Linked DNA regions of Homo sapiens: region 2 is linked to region 1. The links are contacts of gene promoters, found by promoter capture Hi-C in blood cells and fetal thymus (Javierre and others, 2016). All regions are on one chromosome and are shown on one strand. Each heading gives the region's core, a stretch centred on a gene start or on the middle of the fragment in contact. The rest is flanking DNA. Distances are from core to core; before and after follow the strand shown.

Evidence for each region. The method cuts DNA at HindIII sites, captures the fragments that hold promoters and counts their contacts. A CHiCAGO score of 5 or more calls a contact.
Region 2: a fragment that was not itself captured here is called in contact with the fragment with the promoter of GAST in region 1 in 1 of 17 cell types (M2 macrophages); the score reaches 5.7 in M2 macrophages.

What each region holds. Positions count from the first base shown.
Region 1 is chr17:41,710,734-41,714,016 of GRCh38, reverse strand. GAST (gastrin) reads right to left here and starts at 1,686. Exons shown (of 3, transcript NM_000805.5): 1 at 1,630-1,686. The HindIII fragment of the contact is 7,695 bases long and covers 1-3,283 here.
Region 2 is chr17:40,624,327-40,627,664 of GRCh38, reverse strand. SMARCE1 (SWI/SNF related BAF chromatin remodeling complex subunit E1) reads left to right here. Exons shown (of 11, transcript NM_003079.5): 11 at 1-2,703. Among named protein-coding and RNA genes, the nearest start is that of SMARCE1, 22 kb to the left of the region's middle. The HindIII fragment of the contact is 1,649 bases long and covers 426-2,074 here.

The sequences.
Region 1 (3,283 bases), core at 437-2,936:
TGCTTAACTGAGGAATATCCTGTGATTATAATGAAGCAGTTAAGAAAAAATTAAGCTGTCACCATTAGCAATTATGTATCAGGGTGAATCAAGTTTGGGGAAAACATAATACAGAACTAAACTGGAATCTCAAACAAACATAAAATTCAAATGCTCATCTATTCCCTGGACTCACTATTTTTGTATGCTTTTGGTCTCACTATTCTGATTGGCTTTATCATAAGAAAATGATAAAAATTTTCTCTTGTCAGAATACATTTGTATTAATAAAATACTGTACTGCTTTTAAGTTTTTCTTTTTTTCTTTTCTTTTTGTGAGACAGAATCTTGCTCTGTCTCCCAGGCTGGAATGCAGTGGCTGGCGTGATCCTGACTCGCTGCAGCCTCGACCTCTTGGGCTCAAGAGATCCTCCCACCTCAGCCTCCTGAGTAGTTGGGACTACAAGTGTGCACTACTATGCCCAGCTAATTTTTTTGTTTTTATTTTTAGTAGAGATGAGGTCTCACTATGTTGCCCAGGCTGGTCTGGAACTCCTGAGCTCAAGCAATCTGCTTGCTTCAGCCTCCCAAAGTGTTGTGATCACAGGCATGAGCCACGGTGCCTGGCCATTAAGTTTTTCATAATCAGGTTTTCTGTTAGGTTTTCTTTGGAAGAAAAGAATTCTGCTGCTGAAGAAATGTTTGAAAAATCAGTGATCTGGAGCTGTATTGTCAGATGCTAACCACATGTGTTGTTCAGTGCTATAGCCACCAGCCACATGTGGCTCTTTACATTTAAATTAATTAAATTAAAAAATTATGGTCAGGTGCAGTGGCTCACGCCTGTAATCCCAGCACTTTGGGAGGCTGAGGGGGTTGGATCACTTGAGGTCAGGAGTTTGTGACCAGCCTGGCCAACATGGTGAAACTCTGTCTCTACCAAAAATATGAAAAATTAGCTGGGTGTTGTGGCAGGCGCCTGTAATCCCGGCTACTCGGGAGGCTGAGTCAGGAGAATTGCTTGAACCTGGGAGGCAGAGGTTGCATGTCACTGCACTCCAGCCTGGGTGACACGGCGAGACTCTATATAAAAAAACAAACAACAACAACAACAAAAACTTCCTTACACTAACCCCATTTCAAGCGCACACGTGGCTAGTGGCTACCATATTGAACAGTGCAGATGAAGACCATTTCCTGCATCATAGGACGTTCTTTTGGATGGCACTGGTCTAGGAAAGGGCTTGAAGTGGGATCCAGGAGCTGTGGATTCCTATCCCAGCCTTGCCTAATAATCCCTGTGACTTTGGGCAAGTCACATCTTGCCTCTGGGCCTCAGTTTTCTTGTCTGAGAGAAAGGAGAAGAACCCCAGTCCTCCTCACCTCCCAGGGCTGGGAAGAGTGTGAAGGGATAGGCTAAGGGCAGGGCCCCGGCTGCGGCAGAAGGGCAGGTGGAAGGCAAGGTTGGGAATACCAGGGTAGGTACTGGAGCCAAGACCTAGTTCCATCCTGGGATAAAGAAAGGGTCCCAGCTCTGGAGACCCCAAGGGGTGAGCCCCAGACTCTGGCCAGTGGCCTGGTACCTTGATGGGGGAGAGGACCTGTCAACCCACTTCCTAGCCTCTCCCCTCTCCTCCTGGGTTTTCTCACCTGCAGAGCTGGGAGGTGTGTGGTGCCACGGCTGGGCCTGGTGCCTCTCAGGTCTCTGCTCTGCTTGATGCTCCAGGCCTGCCTTATAAAGCCCTCAAGGTCCCTCCCAACTGTCCCCCCACCCCGCCCCTACCCTGCCATATGAGTCCAGGCGAGAGGAATGGGGTGGGGCACAGGTACAGCCCATCACCCTGCCCCGCCCTTTCATTTAGTGTCAGTCAGTCATCCAGGATGTGGGGGAAGGATAGGGGAGTTGACCTTCATGGTGAGGGGCTGGAGCGGGGTGGCGGCAGCTCTCCAGCTGTACCTGAGGGGCAGGAACCAAGCTCCCTGGGTCAGGAGCAATGCTTCCCACCATATCCTGGGGGTCAGAGGCCTGGCACTTATCTCTCGAACTACATAGGGACCTTTGTGGGTGGTGGTAGGTGAGGGAGTGAACCCGATGGGCTTAGATTCAGGGAAAGTGGATTTCGCCATCCACTGATGTTTGGCAAGCGTGTGAATGTGGGGTGATGTATTGATTCCCCGTCCCCTCCACTGGACTCTGCAAACATAACGTGTTACCAGGAGCAATGGGTTGTGGGCTGATGGCCCTGTTCTCTCCTTCTAGTGGCTCACATCCTGGTCACCTCTGAAGTCCTTTCACCCTCCCCCTACCATGGAACACCCTTGGTGCCTTCTTCTCCTTAGGCCCTCTGTGCTGGGCTGGGTTTGGCTTGTAGCTGCCCCGTGTCTTCTAGGTCAGCTGCCCATGCACCACCACTTGCAAACCCCCTATGCAGAACCAATTCCTGGAGGGTCCTGCCTTTGAAGCCTCCTTCATTTTGCTTTCAAGGGGAGCTAGTAATCTGCATAACAACTTTTTTTTTTTTTTGAGACAAAGTCTAGTTCTGTCACCAGGCTGGAGTGCAGGAGTGCAGTGGTGTGATCTCGGCTCACTGGAACCTCCGCCTCCTGGGTTCAAGCGATTCTTCTGCCTCAACCTCCCTAGTAGCTGGGATTACAGGCGCACGCCCCCACGCCTGGCTAATTTTTTGTATTTTTAGTAGAGATGGGGTTTCATCGTGTTGGGCGGGCTGGTCTCGAACTCCTGACCTCATGATCGGCCCAGCTTAGTCTGCCAAAGTTCTGGGATTACAGACGTGAGCCACCATGCCCAGCCAACAACTTTTCAGTATCAAAATATACCTTCAAATGGTTAGCAAACAGACTAAAGCATTTGCCAAAGATGGACCAGAAAACAAAATGGTACCTTGTTGACTTATTTGATAAACTGCTGCCTCCACATGGTTTGACCAGATGTAATGAGCCGTAGGCTGTTTTTTACTTTTCCACTGTTGAGAGCAGAGATTTTGCTCCTGTTCATGCGTCATTGGGCCCCCACCTTTTCTGGGAGAGTTTGATCCCCTTGGGTATTGGGTAACTGCAGTGGTACCCATGCTTACAGCCAGCCTTGCTGAGAATTAATGGGTGATGAAGGAAGCAGGCTGTGCGGTGTCCATGGCAACTGACGGCTGAATAACCGTTGTGAATAACCACTCTCATCTAGAGCAGGACACGGTGACTCAGCAGATGGAATAAATGAAAACGACAAAAAGCAGTGCAGGCATTGGTGATAATTAATTGAATCACAGAATCTCAGAGATGAAAGGAC
Region 2 (3,338 bases), core at 1-2,500, 1.1 Mb after region 1:
CATCCAGTTTTTTTCTGTAATGCAGTGACAGTGTGGAATGACCACTCAGCCATTATAAATTTGTGTACTCAGGGCCCTTGTCTCACCCAACTATCTCTATAAACTGCTGCAGTAGCTTATTTGTACAAGACACTTGTGAAAATCAGTTTTCTTACATTATAGTCATTGTCACATATGGAAGTTGGTCTTTGATTCCAAAAGTAAAGGGAATATGTTTCTACATTAACAGGAATATGGAGAAATCTGTAACGTTTGAATTATCTTTGAAAGAATGGCTAAATGATAAATGTTAAGTCCTGTGCCTATATGGAGAGGACTCTGTACCAGCATGAGTTAATTTAAGTGGATTCACTGCTATTCAGTTCATAGCACATTAGTGACTAGGAATGTGTGTTCAGCCTCCTGAGAGAGGAGGGGAGGAAGCTTGATACTGGGTGGAAACAACTCTTGACATCTGTTTCCTTGTGTGTCAAAGAACGAATTTGTATCAAATAGATCTGTTTTGAGCTTTGGCCATTATTTGGCTAAGAACTTCAGCCATCTCATCTCAGACAAATTGGACAGCCTCTTTGATACATTTTCTAGTAGTCAAAATGGGGCAGATGTAGTTTAATATGGGTGGAAAACTGCCCCAGCAAGATACCAGGTTATTTACTGTGGTATCGAAAGCTCTAAGAGAATGGAAGTGGTTCTTTTGCCCGGCTGGAAATAGCAGTGGGAAGACAAGTCTATCCAGACCAAGCCTGTCCATACAACACTGGCAATCAGTTGATGAGGGAATTAAGTCAGATGGGAGACGTCTCAATCTGTCGCCCAGGTTGGAGTGCAGTGGTGGCGATCTCAGCTCACTGCAACCTCCACCTCCCAGGTTCAAGCAATTCTCTCTGCCTCAGCCTCTAGAGCAGCTGGGATTACAGGCTCTCGCCACCATGCCCGGTTAATTTTTGTATTTTTTAGTAGAGATGGGGTTTCACCATGTTAGCCAGGCTGATCTTGAACTCGTGACCTCAGGTGATCCGCCTGCCTCAGTCTCCCAAAGTGCTGGGATTACAGGCGTGAGCCACTGTGCCCGGCCTCAGTTGGGATTTGACAGCTCTGAACCTCAGCAGGGGAAGATTGATGTAAAAATCCACTTGGTCAGAGTGATATATGTAGACTTGATGTTTGAGATGGTTCTCAGTTTAGAGAATGTGGGATATGGTAGAGGTCTTTGTTTTTTTCCCATGTCCCAAAAGGTGCTGGGCAAGTAGCTTGAACTCGAGCCTGTTTTAATTATAAAATAGATCAAACTGCTCTTTCTTGGTGCCCTTACTGCTCCTTGATTTTTAGTGCATTTATTTTGAGTATGAATGCATAAAGTCTGAGGGCCTAAATTTTGTTAATTTTTTTTAACAAATGGGAGAGGGGAATCCTCGATAGTCACCCAATTTTCCTTTTTTTTTGAGACAGTCTGACTGTTGCCCAGGCTGGAGTGTAATGGCGCCATCTCGGCTCACTGCAACATCCAGCTCCTGGGTTTCAGCAATTCTCCTGCCTCAGCCTCCTGAGTAGCTGGGATTACAGGCGCCCGCCACCACGCCCGGCTAATTTTTGTATTTTTAGTAGAGACAGGATTTTGCCATGTTTGCCAGCCTGGTCTCGAACTCTTGACCTCCTGATCCACCCTCCTCTGCCTCCCAAAGTGCTGGGATTACAGGCGTGAGCCACCGCGCCCAGCCCCATAGTCCCCCAATTTTCTAACAGTTTTAAATTCTGTAACTTCTCCTGTCTGTAAACAAGGCTGTCTTTTCAAATGGCTCTCCTACAGGATGTGATAATTATCTATTCTATAAAGCCGAGGTTTGGAGAGGTAAATAGCTATTTCACATTAACACAATAATGTCAATGCCCTATGGAAAAGATAAAATACTTGGACTATATTTTAAAGGGGAATCTGGGGTCATGCATATTGAAGTTTAACTAGATCCCTCCAGATTTTTGGTTTTGATCCTACACATTTAGATACTAGTTTTGGATTTTAGACAGTTGGTGCTGACAGTGTGAAACTCCTATTGCCTGCAGTTAAATTGAAGCTTTGGTTTCTCGTGAACAGGCAGTGAAGCTGGTATTATACTTTAAGTCCTCATTTCAGAAATAGTTTCCCTCCACCCCCAAGCACTACCACACATGGTCTCCCCACCTGGTTTCAGCTAGTGCATTAGTTTTATCTTGTTTTTTACCGCTGGGCAAACCTTGCTGGAACAACAACTGACTTCATGATTTGCACATTTGGAGGGCTTAACGTCTTTGCAAATGAAAAATCCACTGTACAATAACAAGCTCAAAGGAACTCGGAGCCTTTTTAGAAGAAATCGTGCTGAATTATAATGTGGCTTACTGCAATAATGTTTCTTTGATCAGGATGGAAAGGAAAATACTGAGTTTAGCAGAAAACGATGTCTAAATGTATTTGTAATGATACAATTGTTTATAAATGTTTTACTATTAGGTTGAACCATAAGAAATTGCCAGTGTACAATTTCATCTACAAAATGACTGGCTTAACCTAAATTCTGCATTTTATACTCCAAGAATAAGCTCTTCGTGGCAGCTTTCTAAGTGTGAAATGATGGAACTTTCTATTTGCCAGAATGACCTACACTTCTCTAATAGTTTATCTCATATTGTTAGCCAAACGCTGATTAAAATGCAAATTTCAAACTATTGAGTTTTTAAGAGCCTGATGTTTAAAATACATTTTGGTGAACTTTTAGTTAAACTAGCTCATTTATGTTCACACATTTTCTCATTTAGCACCAGAAAGTTTCTTACAGCTCTTTTGCATGCATTCAGGAGTCAAAAGTATTATATGGGGAGGGGAAATTCCCAAATGATAAATACTCTTTACATAAAACTGAGACAGTAGCTGCAGATAATGGCTCCCTTTGAGGAGCCACTTGAAAGAAAGGAAAGGCTGCCTTAAACTCCTTGACTTTAAGGGGCAGCAAGGACCCTCGGTCAGCCACCTCCACACCCGTCTAGCACTTGGTCCCAGGTCCCCTAAGGTCGTCATGGTTCTGTTTAAATAAATACTTCTAGTCTTGGGGAGCCCATCATGTCTTAAGATAGCTCATTCCTTCTTTAGTTCACTAAAGGTATTTCCTCTCACTGAACTAAAAATCTGTCTTCCTATAATTTCAGCCTCCCTCTTACACAACTTGAAGTCAATTAGAGTACATGTCATCACCTTCCAAGTAAAAGATCTTCAGGTATTTCAAGACATGTGCTCCTTGAGATCCTTTCAGAAGACAATTTCCGTTTTCTTTTTTAGAATTTTTAATTTTTTTAATGTACAGAAA